Linked DNA regions of Homo sapiens: region 2 is linked to region 1. The links are contacts of gene promoters, found by promoter capture Hi-C in human tissues and cell types (Jung and others, 2019). All regions are on one chromosome and are shown on one strand. The core of a region is centred on a gene start or on the middle of the fragment in contact, and the rest is flanking DNA. Distances in the headings are between cores, read along the strand shown.

Evidence for each region. The method cuts DNA at HindIII sites, captures the fragments that hold promoters and counts their contacts. A contact is called where the count stands out against the background at its distance.
Region 2: a fragment that was not itself captured here is called in contact with the fragment with the promoter of KLB in region 1 in 2 of the 25 tissues and cell types used here (spleen and stomach).

The regions. Positions count from the first base shown.
Region 1 is chr4:39,405,131-39,408,605 of GRCh38, forward strand. KLB (klotho beta) reads left to right here and starts at 1,800. Exons shown (of 5, transcript NM_175737.4): 1 at 1,800-2,644. The coding sequence starts at 1,820. The HindIII fragment of the contact is 19,436 bases long and covers 1-2,633 here.
Region 2 is chr4:39,371,227-39,374,701 of GRCh38, forward strand. No RefSeq gene overlaps it. Among named protein-coding and RNA genes, the nearest start is that of RFC1, 6.6 kb to the left of the region's middle. The HindIII fragment of the contact is 4,681 bases long and covers 1-3,475 here.

The DNA of each region.
Region 1 (3,475 bases), core at 550-3,049:
TATGTGATACTTCAAATATTTAAAACATTTATTTATTTATTTATTTATTATTTTTTGAGACAGAGTCTCATTCTGTCACCCAGGCTGGAGTGCAGTGGTGCAATCATGGCTCACTACAGTCTTGACCTCTTGGGCTCAAAGCAATCCTCCCACCTTGGCCTTCTAAAGTGCTGGGACTACAGGCATGCACAACCACACCCGGTTAGTTTTTAATTTTTTTTGTAGAGATGGGGCCTTATTATGTTCCCCAGGCTGTAAAACATTAAATTTTTTACAGGTTATTTGGAGGCTATCGATTTGGTACAATATTTCTTTCTGTATGTGCATGTATTTCTTTCTGTATGTTTATCTTTATTCCAGAATCATGCTGAAGGTAGTCTATGCCTTTGCTATTTTCTTTTTCAGGTTTTTCTTTCCTTTTTAAAAATAAATATTGCCTATTCTTCAAGGGAACTTTCATAATAATTTTCTCTTTTTTTTTTTTTTTTTATTTTGAGACCGAGTCTTGCTCTGTTGCCCAGGCTGGAGTGCGGTGGTGCGATCTCAGCTCACTACAACCTCCACGTCCCAGGTTCAAGAGATTCTCCTGCCTCAGCCTCCCAGGTAGCTGGGATTACAGGTGCCCACCACCGTGCCCAGCTAATTGTATTTTTAATAGAGACGGGGTTTCAACATGTTGGCTAGGCTGGTCTCAAACTCCTGACCCCAAGTGATCTGCCTGCCTTGGCCTCCCAAAGTGGTGGGATTATAGCCATGAATCACTGTGCCTGGCCTTTCGTAATAATTTTCTTGAACTAAAATTTGGGATTAGGCCAGGCATGGTGGCTCACACCTATAATCCCAAGCACTTTAGGAGGCCGAGGCAGAAGGGCTGTTTGAGCCCAGGAGTTCAGGACCAGCCTGGGGGACATAGCTAGACCCCACCTCTACCAAAAAATCAAAAATCAGCTGGGCATGGTGGCATGTGCCTGTTGTCCCAGCTACTTGGAGGCTGAGGAGGGAGGATTGCTTAAGCCTGGGAAGTTGAGGCTGCGGTGAGCTGTGATGACACCACTGCACTCCAGCCTAGGCTACAAAGCAAGACTCTTATTAAAAATTAATTAATTAATTAAAAAATTAGAGATTAGAGAATTTTAGTTAAGTTAAATAAATAAAATAAAAAATAAAATTAGAGATTAGAGGATTTTAGTTAAGTTAAATGTATTAAATTGAAAAGTATTTCATTTTTCCATCCACAAAGTGCTATATTTTCTCATTCAAGTCTTCTCTCAAATCTACCAATACATTTTTGCAATTTTCCTAAAATAGGTAACATTTATTAAGATTGTTCTTAGATGCGTTATAATTTTGTGGAGAAGTGTAATTTCTTATTGTGTTTTCTAATTCTTTACTATTGGTATGTAGGAATGCTATATACTTGTATATGTTATTTTTCTTGATATATGAGATTATAAAATTACCACACAAAAACTCTAAAAATAGAAAAGCTATATACCTTATTCAATAATGTTCAAAACATTCAGAAAAGATTTGGGTCAATATGAAAGGCTACACGGAAAATAATGTGATTTTAATCCAGTGTTTACATATGTGTTAGTTACACATTCAAACTCTTGTCACCGATGCATTTTCATCTAATTTTTTCCATAATGAGAGAGAAGGAGACGCGTTGGTGACTGCAATAGGGCCACCTCCCTCAAATTACGTTGCTCTCTATGACCCATCCTCAGTCTCCCAGTTCAAGCTAATCATTGACAGAGCTTTACAATCACAAGCTTTTACTGAAGCTTTGATAAGACAGTCCAGCAGTTGGTGGCAAATGAAGCCAGGCTGTGCGGCAGGATCTCCAGGGAATGAATGGATTTTCTTCAGCACTGATGAAATAACCACACGCTATAGGAATACAATGTCCAACGGGGGATTGCAAAGATCTGTCATCCTGTCAGCACTTATTCTGCTACGAGCTGTTACTGGATTCTCTGGAGATGGAAGAGCTATATGGTCTAAAAATCCTAATTTTACTCCGGTAAATGAAAGTCAGCTGTTTCTCTATGACACTTTCCCTAAAAACTTTTTCTGGGGTATTGGGACTGGAGCATTGCAAGTGGAAGGGAGTTGGAAGAAGGATGGAAAAGGACCTTCTATATGGGATCATTTCATCCACACACACCTTAAAAATGTCAGCAGCACGAATGGTTCCAGTGACAGTTATATTTTTCTGGAAAAAGACTTATCAGCCCTGGATTTTATAGGAGTTTCTTTTTATCAATTTTCAATTTCCTGGCCAAGGCTTTTCCCCGATGGAATAGTAACAGTTGCCAACGCAAAAGGTCTGCAGTACTACAGTACTCTTCTGGACGCTCTAGTGCTTAGAAACATTGAACCTATAGTTACTTTATACCACTGGGATTTGCCTTTGGCACTACAAGAAAAATATGGGGGGTGGAAAAATGATACCATAATAGATATCTTCAATGACTATGCCACATACTGTTTCCAGATGTTTGGGGACCGTGTCAAATATTGGATTACAATTCACAACCCATATCTAGTGGCTTGGCATGGGTATGGGACAGGTATGCATGCCCCTGGAGAGAAGGGAAATTTAGCAGCTGTCTACACTGTGGGACACAACTTGATCAAGGTACTGTACAGCTAGCTTCTTCTTATAGCTTCAGAAAACACTAAGAATTTAAGAATTTACCTTCTGCCTCAGTAATTCTCTTCACTGAAATCAAGGCAACTGATTTTAAGCTAATTCAAAAGATCTATCCTCAAATTTTGCATTTAAGTTAGTGTATGTTTTATTTATCTAAGGTATTTTTAATGTATTAATCCAATTAGTTTTTTCAAAAGTTGCACTTTGAGGCTATTTTTAAATCTACCATTATACACTACAGTGTGAATATATGAGCTTACTTTCATTCTGTGGGAAAACAGTGCTTCATAAATTTAATTGTTGGAACCCTTTTCTGACAACATGCAATCATTTCAGAATTATCTTAAGGCACAACCATTTCAAATATGTATTTGTTGTTAAGTATAGCTAACTTAGCTAATAAGTAAATAAAGTAAGTAAATAAGTAAGCCAAATAAATGTTAGCTAACTCATGCATATTAAATACAGAAATTTAAATATACTTCACTTTTGATTTTATTTGTGTTACATAGCAAAAAAGAGAAGATTAATTGTTATGGGAGCTAAACACATTTCTTCCCATAAGAACTGGGAAGAATGTGCTCTACTAAAGCAATTTTCAAGCAATATATTTCAAAAGCTAGAGATAATGTTGAGAAATGTTAAAATTAGTAAAACAATAGTGAAAATACAAGCAAAATAATAGGTAATAATTACTGAGTACTTATTATGTACCACAGACTACATTAAGTATTTTACATGCATCGTTACAGTTGATCCTCTTAACAGCCTTTTGAACTAGTTTTATTATTCTTCCCATTTAAAAGATGAGGAAAC
Region 2 (3,475 bases), core at 348-2,847, 34 kb before region 1:
GGCTGAAAGGGGCCAATGTAGAGCTTGGGCTGTGGCTTCAGAGGGTGCAAGCCTCAAGTCTTGGCAGCTTCCACGTAGCATTGAGCCTGCAAGTGCACAGAAGTCAAGAATTGAGGTTTGGGAACCTCTGCCTAGATTTCTGAAGATGTATGGAAATGCCTGGATGCCCAGGCAGAAGTTTGCTGTAGGGGCGGAGCCCTCATGGAGAACCTCTGCTAGGGTAGTGCTGAAGTGAAATGTGGGATCAGAGCCCCCACACAGAGTCCCCACTGGGGCGCTGCCTAGTGGAGCTGTGAGAAGAGGGCCACCGTCCTCCAGACCCCAGAATGGTAGATCCACTGACAGCTTGCACCATGCACCTGGAAAAGCCGCAGACACTCAACATCAGCCCATGAAAGCAACTGGGAGGGAAGCTGTACCCTGCAAAGCCACAGGGGTGGAGCTGCCCAAGACCATGGGAACCCACCTCTTGAATCAGCATACCTGGATGTGAGACATGGAGTCAAAGGAGATCATTTTGGAGCTTTAAGATTCGACTGCCCTGCTGGATTTCAGACTTGCATGGGGCGTGTAGCCCCTTTGTTTTGGCCAATTTCTCCAATTTGGAATGGCTGTATTTACCCAATGCCTGTACCCCCATTGTATCTAGGAAGTCACTAACTTGCTCTTGATTTTACAGGCTCATAGGCAGAAGGGACTTGCCTTGTCTTGGATGAGACTTTAGACTGTAGACTTTTGAGTTAATGCTGAAATGAGTTAAGACTTTGGGGGACTGCTGGAAAGGCATGATTGGTTTTGAAATGTGAAGATATGAGATTTGGGAGGGACCAGGGATGGAATGATATGGTTTGGCTCTGTGTTCCCACCCAAATCTCATCTTGTAGCTCCCATAATTCTCACATGTTGTGGGAGGGACCCAGTGCGAGATGATTGAATCATGGGGCAGGTCTTTCCCATGCTGTTCTCGTAATAGTGAATGGGTCTCACAACATCTGATGGTTTTAAAAATGTGAGTTTCTCTGCACATACTCTCTCTCTTTGCCTGCTGCCATCCATGTAAGTTGTGACTTACTCCTCCTTGCCTTCCACCGTGATTGTGAGGCCTCCCCAGCCATGTGGAACTGCAAGTCCAATAAATTTATTTCTTTTGTAAATTGCCCAGTCTTGGGTATGTCTTTATGAGCAGTGTGAAAATGGGCTAATACATATACCATTGAGCAAAAGAAGCATCTATTCCATATGCAATATATTTTGCTGGCTGTTCAGGCTGAATGGAAAGATCAGTAAAAGCTTTCCCTACCTCAGTGAATTTTATGAATGAAATGAGGATAAAATATTTACACTGCACACACACAAAAAATAACATCTGTATCTCTATGAAGCAGGTAACAATGGCATAGGTTGCATTTAGCTGATAGAGAAATAATTTTAGTATGTCATAAAGTTATCAGTAGTTGCCATTAATACAAAATTTCTTTTAGTTTAAGTCTATTACTTGTTCAATTATTTCTATTTATAATTACATATTCACCTATAATTTTCAGAACTTTTGACTCCAGTGGAACTTTATTTTATTTTTTACTTTATTTTATTTTATTTTTGTAGAGACGGGATCTTGCTCTGTTGCCCAGGCTGGGCTCAAACTCCTGGCCTCAAGCAGTCCTCCCACCTTGGCCTCCCAAAGTGCGGGGATTACAGGCAGGAGCCACTGTGCCCGGCCTCCAGTGGAAATATGAATAGCAGTATTTAAATTCTACACAATCTATAATGCAGGGTGTATGAATGAGGAAACTATGACGACTTCTAAATAGGAGATATCCTATTATACATATATATTTTATGTATATATATTTCTTAGAGCAATCGCTAAGAAAAATATTTCTTTAATGTGTAGAGATTTGCTGACAACTGAACTACTCTTTGTCTTCATTTTATGCAATTTTAATAATCATTCTTGGCACTTAAAGTCAATCAGTGAGAGAACGGAAAAGAGGTGAAATTCAACTATAGTAGTGAGTTTCAATTTATAGTTTTGCTAATCACACTTCGTTTTTGTTTTTTTTTTTTTTTTGAGATGGAGTCTCGCTCTATTGCCCTGTCTCTGTTGTAGAGCCACAGTTTCACCATGTTGGCCAGGCTGGTCTCAAACTCCTGATCTCAACTGATCCACCCGCCTCGGCCTCCCAAACTGTTAGGATTACAGGCGTGAGCCACCACGCCTGGCACACACTCTTAAACTAAAACATTTTCTTACAAATGTCTAGAGAATCGGCTGGGTGCAGTGGCTCACACCTGTAATCCCAGCACTTTGGGAGGCCAAGGCAGGCAGATCACCTGAGGTCGGGAGTTCAAGACCAGCCTGACCAACATGGAGAAACCCCATCTCTACTAAAAATACAAAATTAGCTGGGCGTGGTGGCGCATGCCTGTAATCCCAGCTACTCAGGAGGCTGACGCAGGAGAATTGCTTGAACCCGGGAAGCGGAGGTTGCAGTGAGCCAAGATTGCTCCACTGCACTCCAACCTGGACAACAAGAGCAAAACTCTGTCTCAAAAAAAAATGTCTAGAGAATCTCAGGTATTAGTGATAAACTGTATTTACTTTATCAAGTGCTTACCACCATCCAGAGCTAATGATAATATTTATATGAAGCACCACCATCCAGAGCTAATGTTAATAGTTATATGAAGCCATCAACGCAGGTGTAATATTTTAAAATGTAGAGTCCAAAGCACTTACCTTATTTGTACTAAAACAAAGTTAGCTCTCTTCATAGCAACTAACAATTTAAATGGATATGTTAAAAGTATTGTTTATATCCTGTTGTGGTCATGAACCAGATTTTATCTGAGTAAGATTTTTGCCGTATATTTTATAGAAGATGTGAATGTATTGGGATTCCTTTTTTATGCCTTTCCTACTTTAATCTGTGTTTATTTGTAAAATTTTATTAATTAATTTATTTATTTGAGACAGTCTCTCTCTGTCGCCGAGGCTGGAGTGCAATAGTGCGGTCTGGGCTCACTGCAACCTCCACCTCCCAGGTGCAAGTGATTCAAGTGATTCTTGTGCCTCAGCCTCCCAAATACCTGGGACTACAGATGCACGCCACCACTCCCAGTTAACTTTTGTATGGTTTGAAGAGATGGGGTTTCACCATGTTGGCTAGGCTAGTCTGGAACTCCTGACCTCAAACAACCCGCCCAACTCTGCCCTCCAGAGTGCTGGGATTACAGGCGTGAGCCACCACACCGGATGTATTTGTAAAATTTTAAAACGTCTAATATACACTACTCCGTATAAACTGATGATCATATTTAATTCTATTTAAACTTCATGTCAAGAAAGACAACATGTGAGATTTCCATGAAAGTTCAAAATGTTTTTTTTTTTTTTTTTTTTTTGAGACTGAGTCTCGCTCTGTCGGCTCACTGCAAGCTCCGCCTCCCGGGTTCACACCATTCTCCTGCCCCA